2 separate regions of the Homo sapiens genome follow, and region 2 is linked to region 1. Evidence: promoter capture Hi-C in 16 types of primary human blood cells and fetal thymus (Javierre and others, 2016). All regions are on one chromosome and are shown on one strand. The core of a region is centred on a gene start or on the middle of the fragment in contact, and the rest is flanking DNA. Distances in the headings are between cores, read along the strand shown. Region 1 holds the start of GPR173 (G protein-coupled receptor 173). Region 2 overlaps KDM5C (lysine demethylase 5C).

Region 1 (7,867 bases), core at 3,200-5,699:
ACATGAAGTATAGATATGCAGACATTCCTAACACAGACTTGTACACACAACTGGGCATGTTCACATGCACATAGACTTGTTCATTAATTCATTCCCATATGCTTACACTCAGACATGGAAATACAAATGTACTCACAAAACATGCCCACACTATCACAGCCAGATATGTACACCATGTACATTCCTACAAGTTCATACACCCATATGAGAAGCTACACAATAAAGAGGAATCATTTACACCTACATTCTCACAGATGGACTTGGACACAAAGGTATATTCACACACATGTACACATGGAAGTACACTCACATGCACACAACTGTACATCCATACAAGAAGGACTGATCCACACTCATCACAGACACACACACATCCTCACACACATCCTCACACACACACACTTAAACACACTTGTAGGCTGAGAGTGACATGCATGGACGTTACCTTACATTGTGTTCTACAACATATGCTCCAGAACAAAGATGCATAAACACAAACACATACATGCAAATAATTAGAACTGTACAAACTGGCACATTCACACATATGAATATACCTCTGTGTATGCCTGTCTGAATGTACAGGCATACACACAGGCATATTCACACACACACACACACACACACACACACACGTGTGTGTGTGGACAGATGTGTGTGGACATATGTGTATGGACAGGCAGGCATATACAGACATGTTCAATGAAACACACACAGCCAGATGTTCACACCTACTAGCATATACACCCACATATACACTCACAATCACAGGCATATTCAAATACACATTCACACTCACATACTCAGAAATTCAGACAAAACACATAATGAGACATGCACACCCAAGTACCTACTCATGCACGCCACAGACATGTACTCACACATAACAGTGTACACACAAACACAATTAGACATATAGACAATGCATCATTTCACCTATGCACACAGCATTTTGCGTGTGTGTGTGTTTTTGTGTGCAGACAGGCATACACCCCCACACACAGCCATACTCACATACATAATCAAATGTGCACATGTAGGCATACCCACAAAATAGATTTTCATTCACACACTCTCCCCTACCCATAAAATTAGTTCTCCTTATATTAGTGTGCCCACCTATATTAACATTTCTCTAATCGGATGTGGACATAAAGGTTTGTCTACAGGTGATATACACTGGAACATGCACACACGGACATCTATATAATTTAAAATGCTGGAGAACCCACATACAGACATTCACAGAAAGTCAAAAGCCTGCTTACACAAATGCAGGACAGATACACTCATATATACACACACACATATACACCCTCTCATACATGCATGGACATGCACATATATGCCCTTAACACTCACAAGCACACCCTTTAGATGCACCTACACTCATGAGCACACACCAATATGCACAAGCAGATACAACTAGGCATTCATCTAATTGGGCATGCACACCCAGGCATTCTGAAACCCACACACTCATACACATACAACCAGACACGTACACTCAAAGAAAAACTGATGCCACACACATATACAACTAGACATTCAACAGGCCTGATGGCTCAGAGAAAACACACCCACACTCAGGCTCAAAATCAAACATGTCCATTTGATCACCCAGACAGACATGCAAAGTCATGCCCACCCCACAGTACACACACAAGCCTACCCAGATACCCACACACTCACACACATGCCATCACACGGCCTGCTTACACACACAGGTTCATACACAGCCACACTGCCCATGAACAGACATGCACACACAGACTACACACTCAGCCACACATTTTCAGTAGCATATATACAACCACGCTCGGGCCCAGAGGCCTCCAGACCACAGACCAGGTCCTCTCCCACACCAAATGCTTCTTCAGAAAAGTCTACTTTATGCCTCAAAGCCCCCCTCCCTGCCCCCACAGAGATGGTCTTCTGGGCCTCAGTCTTTCCCCATTCCTCCTCTTCCCTTGGCCACCGACCCCACACTCTGTGTCCCATCACATCTCCATGCCCTGAAATCAGCCAGCAGACCCCGTTCTTCCCCCACCCCAGGCTCTAGGTGAGCAGCTCCCTGGGACGCGTCCCTCACAGGTCTGGCTGCTGCATGGGCCACACCCCAGCTCTACCCGAAGCCCCGTGATCTCAGGAGCTTCAGCCTCATCTCCAGGCCCTGCCAACCACTGACCACAGGCCAAACTCTTGCCAAGTCTCCCCTCAACAGGGAGACACATACATCACCAGGGCCAGAAAGGCTGCAGGCTGCAAGCCAGGCCTCTGCTGGCTCATGGGGGCTCAAGGTTCTGTGTGTGTGTGTGCGCACAAACAGGGACAAGTGCAGGGAAAGAAGACTGGAGTGGGGTGGGGGAGGGAGGCTCTGCCCATAACCACTTATCATTCTCTACAAATGAGAAGTATTAACACAGGGCTTCTCCTGCCTCCCTTCCACTACCCTCCATTTGCCCACTTGCTGCCCTCCCCAGATCTCTGCTGAGACCCTGGAGAAGAAGGACCTGTCCCTCCTCCAAGTAATCGATAACACTATTAATCATGAATAATCAGCAACAATATTGACTGTGAGCTTTGCTGACATTGCTTCAGTGCCACCTCGATGCACATCTCTTACTTACATGCACCAACTCATTCAATCCCTACACACACCCATCAGGGAAGGGTTACCAGTCTCTTTGACAGATGGGAAAACTGAGGTTCGGTAAGTGGCATGCTTCCACTAAAGTTGCAGAGCTAGTAGTTGGGGGAAGTGTCCCTGGGAGGATCCATGTTCTCCATGTACCAGGCTTTCCTGCCCTTCCAGATATATGGACCTCCGGCTACTGGGCACAAGGCCACAAGATCCGGGGGGTCTCAGACACAACATGGACATCTGAAACAGAGACAGAGAGCCTTGTGGTGGAGGCTGGGTCCCACACTGTAGGGACAACCATGTTGTTCCTGGCCCCTGCAGGTTGTCATGGGATTGGTCTTTGCCCCCACAGAACCATCAGGCAGCCTAGGGCCTGGAAGTGCTCCCCACCACCACTTCACTGTCCTTTAGCCCTACAGTGACTTCCTCCCCCTAGCTGGGAATCGGCAACATCTTCAGTGGTGAGTGAGCAAAACTCTGCTACCTGTAGGGAGAGATGGGGAGGTGGGGAGGGTGGAAGGAAGGAAGGAAGGAAAGGAGGAAAGAAGGAGTGGGGGATGGTCTGGGCTGGGAGCAGCTTCTCTGTCATGTCTACCCACCTGCTTGCTACCCAGGTGCACACACACACACACACACACACACACACACACACACACACCCGGCCAGCAGGCCAGGGATCCTGGAGGAGAGTGGAGGAGGAGGGAGAGGGAGAGGAGCAGCCGCAAGAGGCTGAGCCTGCCCAGGGTGCAGGCATTGTGAAGGGAACACGGCCGCCGGGCTCCCAGGCATCCCTTCCACAGCCAGCACACAAGGAAAGATTAACACAGCCTCATGCCCAAACGCAACCATGATGATAAAAACAGACCCTGTGAGGGGAAACAGGTGGTGGTTCCCTTTCTCATGGGACATTTGGGATTGGGGAAGATGGGGGGAAGATGAGGAGTCCCCAGGCTTGGGTACCAAGGAGCCCCTTGATGGAGCAGAAAGAGACTAACAGAGTCAGACAGAGACAGAGAGCATGGCAGTGATGGAGACTCTGAAGTATGTGTGGGGAGACAGAACAGAAGTCCCAGCCCCCCATCCTTGGTGGAGGGATGCTGACTGCTTACCTTGGCTCTCTCAGCAGGGATGTCTTGGAATCCACGATGGGGCTCAAGCTGTCTCACCCAGGTAAATCACAGCCCGGGCCACATTGTGGGACCCTCAGTGATCTGGCGGCCAGTGACACTCCTGCTTCTGTTGCCGTGGATACAGCCGGGCTGGTCTAAATCGCAGGCATCAGGGAAAGCAGGCACCGGAGGGGTGCACTGGGTAGGGCTGGGGGTGTTGGGGAACACCAGGTGGGCAGCACACAGCCTTGGGGTGTCCAACTAGCTGGCAGGTGGGGGTCCCGGCAGGTGCTTCCTCCACTATACACTCCCACTCCCATCTTCATGCCACTGCCAAGCTGGGAGGGGGGCCAGTGCTGGCCCCTGCTACCCGTCTGCCTGCCTGGCTGCCGGTCCCCCTACCCCCCCCACCCCCCACCCCCCCCCTCCGTCTGCCTGCTGGCCGCCGCCTTTTGTCCTCAGAAGACACGGTCCCCGCGGGGCCTCTGCCAAGCCTCCAGCAGATGCTCAGGGTCCGGGGCTCCTCCCTGGGAGCACACGGGCCATGGCCTGGGAGAGCCCCAGGTTGGGGGGGCTCTCATCCAGGCTCACCCCGCTCCCCGGGCCTGGCGGGGATGGGGAAGAGGTGCAGGTCCACAGCCAGAGGCAGCAGCAGAGGTGGTGTTGGGGAGGGGATGGACGCCAGAAAGAGGGGGTGGGGTGGAGAGAGAGGCTGGCCTGATAGCCGTGTCCCGGGTTTTAGATCCGGGTTGAGGAGGGTGGCTCAGAGCATCCGAGGGGGGTCCTCATGCAAAACGAGGGCACCAAGGGCCTGCCAGAGGGACCCTCCTGGCCTGGGAACCACCCCGGTGCACACAAATCCAGGTCCCACGATGCTGGGGACACCCAGCCTGGATAGAGCATCAGTGGGGAGTCCGGGGCCCTAAGCTGGACCCCATCAGGCCTGTCCGTCCCCCCTCTCCTCGATTTGCACGGTCCCTGCCTCAGGGGCGGGCGGAGGAGGAGGGAGGCAGGGAGGGAGAGGGAGGGAAGGAGGAAGGCTGAGCAGGCAGGGAGACTCCCAGCTGCCAGCCTGGTCCTCCCTGGGGCGGGGCGGGGAGCGGGGGGGGGGGCGGGGGGTGCTGGCGAGGCCAGGGAGCAGCCGGCTGGCTGACTGGGTGGGGACGCTGGCGTGGCGGCTGTGCTGCCAGGACAATAGCTGGCTGGGGAAGTCAGGCTCGGGCCTTTCTGAGATGCTCGAGAGAGGCATGAGTGGAGGTGGGGAGAGATGGCCAAGAGGCTGCTGAGAGAGCAACTCACATGGGCTACAAGTGCAGAGGAGGCAGGGCATAGAGGACGCTAGGATCTGGGTCGGGACAAAGGTCCGGCGAAAGTTTCTCAAAAGCTTTGGGCTGGGAGGCATGCTTAGGGCCCGGAGAGGTGGGATTCATAAACTGATTTAGAATGGGGTTCTATGGGCATTTTCCCTGCAAGGCCTGGAGGTTGGCTGGGGGGTTGGGGTGGGAAAGGAGCGCTGCCCAACTCTGAACAGCCCCTCTCAGGATATCTCCTGTGCCATCCCCACTTTCTCGGGGCCAGCAGACAGGCAGAACCCATACTTAAAGCCATGTCCCAGGACAACAGAATAGGAGAGGTGAGGAGAACGCTTGGTAGGCAGAGATATGAAGACAAGGAAAAAAATATTTGTTTCAAATATGATTAAATTGGGACCAAATGATGCTTCAGTGGTTCCCCTAAGTTACAGCATTCAAGAATTCAAATTATCTTGATATAAGAAATTGTGTTTTATTTCCTTTCTTCCTTCATCCATTGGTTCCTTCATTTATGACAAATGGTTTTATGTTAGGCCCAGTGCTGGGCACTAACAGTACCGGGTGACTCAGACCTATGCTCTCTGCCCTTAGGAAATGCAGGCTCTGCTACCAGACTGTGGACCTGGAACCCACTTGCATCTGAATCCCCTGGAGAACTTGTAAAGTGTAGATACCCAAGCCTACCTCCCAGAAATACTAATCTAGGAGGTTTTCAGATGGGGCTTCAAAACCTGCCTTTTGACAAGGCCCTCCGGTGGTCATTTTTATGCCCACATGCTTTGGGGAGGGAGAAAAATCCATGGAAAATTAGAAAATGTTTTGGAGGCCGGGTGTAGTGGATCATACCTGTAATCCCAGCACTTTCGGAGGCCAAGGCAGGAGGATTGCTTGAGTTCAGGAGTTTGAGACCACCCGGGACAACATATTGAGACCCCGTCTTTATAAAAAATTTAAACCTTATCTGGACATGGTGGTGTGCGCCTGTAGTCCCAGTTACTTGGGAGGCTGAGGTGGGAGGATCACTTGAGCCCAGGATGCTGCAGTGAGCTGTGTTCTCACCACTGCACTCCAGCCTGGGCAACAGAGCAAGACTCTGTCTCGAAAAACAAACAAAAAAAGGCAAAACGGGCTGGGCACGGGCTCACGCCTGTAATGCCAGAACTTTGTGAGGCCAAGGCAGGCAGATTGCTTGAGCTCAGGAGTTTGAGAAAAGCCTGGCCAACATGACAAAACCCTGTCTCTACTAAAAATACAAAAATTGGCAGAACGTGGTGGTGCGCACCTGTGGTCCCAGCTACTCCAGAGACTGAGGTAGGAGGATTGCTTAAGCCCAGGAGGTCGAGGCTGCAGTGAGCCGAGATCGTACCACTCCACTCCAGCCTGGGCGACAGAGCAAGACTCTGTCTCAAAAAAAAAAAAATGGCAAAACAATAAGTCTTCTAAAATATGATGTAAGAGAATATCTTTATAACTTTGGGGTAAGGAAGGAATTAAACAAGACAAGAAGTAATTACCATAAAGGAAAGGAGTGATACATTGAACAGCATTAAAATTTAAAACTTCTGGTTATCAAAAGATACCATTAAAATAGTGAAAAGATAAGTCATAGAATTAGATAAAATATTTGCAAAGTATATATCCAGTAAAAGGCTCATATCCAGAATATACAAATAACTTTTACCAACCAATAAGAAAAAGACAGATAACCCAAAAGAATAACAGACAAGATACTTGAACAGGGACCTTGCAAAAGAGGATAGCCAACTGGCCAAAAACTTAGGAAAATGTGCTAAACCTCATTGGTAGTCAAGAAAATACAAAATGAAACCATGCTCACTAGATTGACTAAAAAGAAAAAGACAATACCGAATATTGGTGAGAATGTGGAGTGATAAGAGCTCTCATACAGTATTGATGAGAGTATAAATTGATATAGCCACTTTGGAAACTGTTTAGCAATATCTACTAAGGCGACCACGTGCATACTTCATAACCCAGCAGTTCTACTTTTAGGTATGTGCCCATCCAAAATGCATATATATGTTTACCAAAAGACATTGTGGTAATGTTCATAAAAGCACTATTTGTAACAGTGCAAACTGGAAACAACCCAAATACCATCAATAGGAGAATGAAAAATAAATTGTGGTATATTTGCACATTGGAATAGTATACATCAATGAGAAGAAATGACTTACAACTACAATATGGATGAATCCCACAAACATTACACTGAGCAGAATAAACCAGACAAAAGAATACTGTATGATTCCATACATATAAAGTTCAAAACCAGGCAAAACCAATGTATTGTGATAGAAGTCAGAATAGTGATTACCATTGGGGTCTGAGTAGGAGGCCTAAAGAGACATTCTTTCTTTCTTTTTTCTTTTCTTTATTTTTATTATTTTTTTTTTTGAGATGGAGTCTCACTCTGTCGCCCAGGGTGGAGTGCAGAGGCACCATCTGGGCTCACTGCAACCTCTGTTTTCCGGATTCAAGCAATTCTCCTGCCTCAGCCTCCTGAATAGCTGGGATTACAGGCGGCCACCACCATGTGTGGCTAATTTTTGTATTTTTAGTAGAGGCGGAGTTTCACCATGTTGGCCAGTAGAGGCTGGATTCGAACTCCTGACCTCGGGTGATCTGCCCACCTCTGCCTTCCAAAGTGCTGGGATTACAGGCATGAGCCACCGCGCCAGGCCAAAGAGACTTTTTAGAGTGCTGGGAATGTTCTGGTTCTTGATTTTGGAGCTGATTACTCAGGTGGCTTAGTAACAGTTCATCGAGAGTGTTCATTT
Region 2 (3,157 bases), core at 658-3,157, 170 kb before region 1:
CTCTGTCTCCCTTGAGGTGGGTTCAGGGAATTGTCCTCTTCTTTTCCTCGTTGAAGGCAATGTCAAGGCCTTTTCTGCACATCATCCCGCAGACTTGACTTCCTATGGAGATGTTTGGACCGGTCAGCTTGGTGGTGGGGTGTGAGTCCTTCTCAGAAGATTTCTACTCTCCTCTGGTCCAGGATGTAGGAGATCCCAGAGGATAGGGCACTCTTGGGCCCGCAGAACAGAATGGAGCCATGGAATTCTGTCCCTTTTGGAACATGATTGCCAGGGGTCAGCAACAAAGGCCATAGCTTTCCTCCTAGGCCTGGCTTCAGGCTAGAAGTCTCCCAAGGGCTAGGGCAAGCTGCTGCCTTGCTGATATGGTGGAAAAGTGATGATAATGTTCAGTGATCAGTTGGGATTCCAAGGGCAGAAATTGAGCTTTGCTGGAAAAGGGTGTTTTTGAGTGGGTGTCTCCTGGCTGAAATGGAATAGGAAGCTTCATTCCCACCTGAGGAGGGCACCACAGGCCTCCTTATCCAACTTGGTGCTTTCTGGTGCTCAGCCACAGATCTAGGATGGTTTCAGATAGATCCTCTAGGAGGTGTTGGGTAAGCGAATTTCTTCCTTCTTGGAGTCTGGCCACAGATTTCTGAGGTATCCTTGTCCATGGTGAGGGAGTGGCAGTGGGTAGAGGGTCAGGAAGGCTAGTGGAAGGGAGAGGCAGGAGTCCTGGGCAGCCTCAAGGAGGCACTCCCTGAAGTGGTTGGGCAAGCCTGTGGGAAAAAGAGGCATAGCTGACGTAGGGGGTAGTTGAGGCCTGAATTCCTTTTTTCTATCTTGGACTGACTTAGGCAGGCTGGCCTTGTGTAGGTGTTGTTACCCTGCTTTGGGGCATCAGGAAGGGGAAGAGTGACATGTCCCAGGTGTGCATGGCCAGCAGGAGGCCGTCCTTTTCACTGCTCAACAGTGTGCTTCTCTCTAATCCAGGATACCTGGCTCTCTGGTTTGGTTTTGTTTTTTCCTTCTCTATGGCAGCTCCTAGGCCACCTTTAGGCAGCTGGCCTTCTTCTGGTTGAAGTTTGAAGTACTCGCTCAAGTGATGCTTGGGCCCAGGGTGGGAACCTGTATATGGGTGGGTACCTGGGAATTGGAGGTTTGCTGGAGGAAGGATGGTTTGGGGCCTGAATTGCTGGGCAGGTGACTGCTACGCTTGGGAAAGATGGGTGGGAGGAGAGTGTGGGTACCCTGAGTAGACCCAGTGGAGTTTGGAAGGATCTTGCTTTCTTCATCAGGTAGCCAGCCTTTTTTTTATCACCACATCCCAGTAATACCAACATACATTTGGCATACAGTAGTCTGGAGATGAAGGCAGGCGGTTTGCAGGGCCTTCCCAGGTATCTGTTGCATCCATGGCTCCTGCCGTAGCATTCCAGGGCTGCCATTTCCTGTCAGGTGCTTGATGTTGCACTGATTGTCTAGAACTTGATTCAGCAGGAAAGAAGGGTGCCCGGAGTTTTGGGTTTGAGCACCTTTTTAGCTGGGTTACCTGTGCTGAGGGGAGTGCCCTATCCTGATGAGAGGCAAGAGGGCATGGGGAGCTTGTCTGGATTTGAGCCATACCATTTTGGCCTGCCTGTTTTTTTTTTTTTTTGTCCCTGCTTACTGAGCCCCAGATGTTTGCCACCTGCTTTGGCTGGTAGGGGCAGGGGAGTGTGGTCTGTGTATGCATGCAAAATATGAGTCCTCTAGCCCATTTTCTAAAAGTGTGTGTGCAGAAGAGGTCAACAGTTTTTCTTCTCTTTCACTGTCTCTCCCCCCCGCCCACGTGTATGCATGTATGTATGAACATTGATGTCTGGTGTAGTGCAAAGGCCTTGGATCAGAGGTCAGAAGACGTGGGTTCTTGGCCCCACCACTAACTCAGCATGTAATTTTGGAAATTTCACTTTTTTTCTCTGAGCCTCACTTTCCCCATTTATAAAATGAGAACATTGGTTTAGGTTACTTTAGGTTGATTTCACCACCCCAGCAGGAGCCAGGGCTCTGGGAAGGAGAGGTCTGCATAGGAGGTTGGAAAGGGGTGTTGGAGAGGGGGTTCTTCACAGCTGACCTTTGGGCAGGACACAGCAAGCTCCAACTTGGCAGAGCAGAGTGTCTCCCACTTTCATGATCTTTCCCTGACTTCCCTCCCCAAATCCTCCCATTCTTTGCCACCACAGTCAGGCATCCCAGCACTTACCCCCACCCCCTGGGGCTTCCTCCCCTGCCTCTTCCTGTACCAGGCAGGTGTATGAGAGAGGATCTACAGGAAGCCTTCCAGACTGGGTGAGTGATACACATACTTGCTCCCTGTTCCTTGCTCTTCCCTGCAGTGTCTATCTCAGGCCCTTTAAACTGAGAGAACAAACATTAAAGGCCCAAACCTTTACGTCCTGCCACAATCGGACCTGAGCTACCCTGCATGTGTATTGTGAGGTGTGGTCAGCCTTAGATGTCAGGTCATAACGGTGACTCCTTTGAATAACATTTTCATTTGAAAACTAGTTTTAATTTTCCATATTGGTCTGGCAAGGAAGCCAGGGCTAGAGTTCATATTCCCACCTCACAGATGAGAAAACAGGTTCAGAAAGCTAAAATCTCATAGCTAGTAAGTAGCGGATCTAGAACATGAACCCATATCTTCTGACTCTAGATCCTGTGTGCTTTCCAGTACTCCCAGGCCTGTGTGTCCTACAGCACGTGCCTAGGGGATAAGGAATTAATGTGGGTGTGGAGAAGGTTTAGGGTCAACAAAACAGAGGCTCCATCTCTTAATTTCTTGAAATCCTGGCACTGTACTGTTGGGTGGGACTCAGGAGAAGTTTCCTAGGGCATGTGCATGGGGCCTTGGGTGCAGACTTGAGGGGCTGCTAGACTCTTGTGAGTTCTGGGGGGAGGTGGGGGTGGGTGGTTGGGTAGGATGTTTGCAGGTTAAAGGGTCTGGAGTGGCTAGAGGTTTGGGAAGGTGCCAGTGGGATTCCGAGCTGCTTTTGGTGACTTCCGGTCTTACACTATGCTGAGATAACTCAAGTCCCTTTCCCCTCTCTACCCTCTCAGGACTGGCAGCCACCCTTTGCTGTGGAAGTGGACAACTTCAGGTTTACCCCCCGAATCCAGAGGCTGAATGAGC

The links. Contacts are between HindIII fragments. The CHiCAGO score rates a contact against its expected background, and 5 or more counts as called.
Region 2: a fragment that was not itself captured here is called in contact with the fragment with the promoter of GPR173 in region 1 in 6 of 17 cell types (megakaryocytes, activated CD4 T cells, fetal thymus and 3 more); the score reaches 7.5 in megakaryocytes.

The regions. Positions count from the first base shown.
Region 1 is chrX:53,045,371-53,053,237 of GRCh38, reverse strand. It overlaps GPR173 (G protein-coupled receptor 173), which reads right to left and starts at 4,449. Exons shown (of 2, transcript NM_018969.6): 1 at 3,754-4,449. The HindIII fragment of the contact is 17,268 bases long and covers 1-5,139 here.
Region 2 is chrX:53,220,844-53,224,000 of GRCh38, reverse strand. It overlaps KDM5C (lysine demethylase 5C), which reads left to right. Exons shown (of 26, transcript NM_004187.5): 2 at 3,085-3,157. Among named protein-coding and RNA genes, the nearest start is that of KDM5C, 2.8 kb to the left of the region's middle. The HindIII fragment of the contact is 2,841 bases long and covers 487-3,157 here.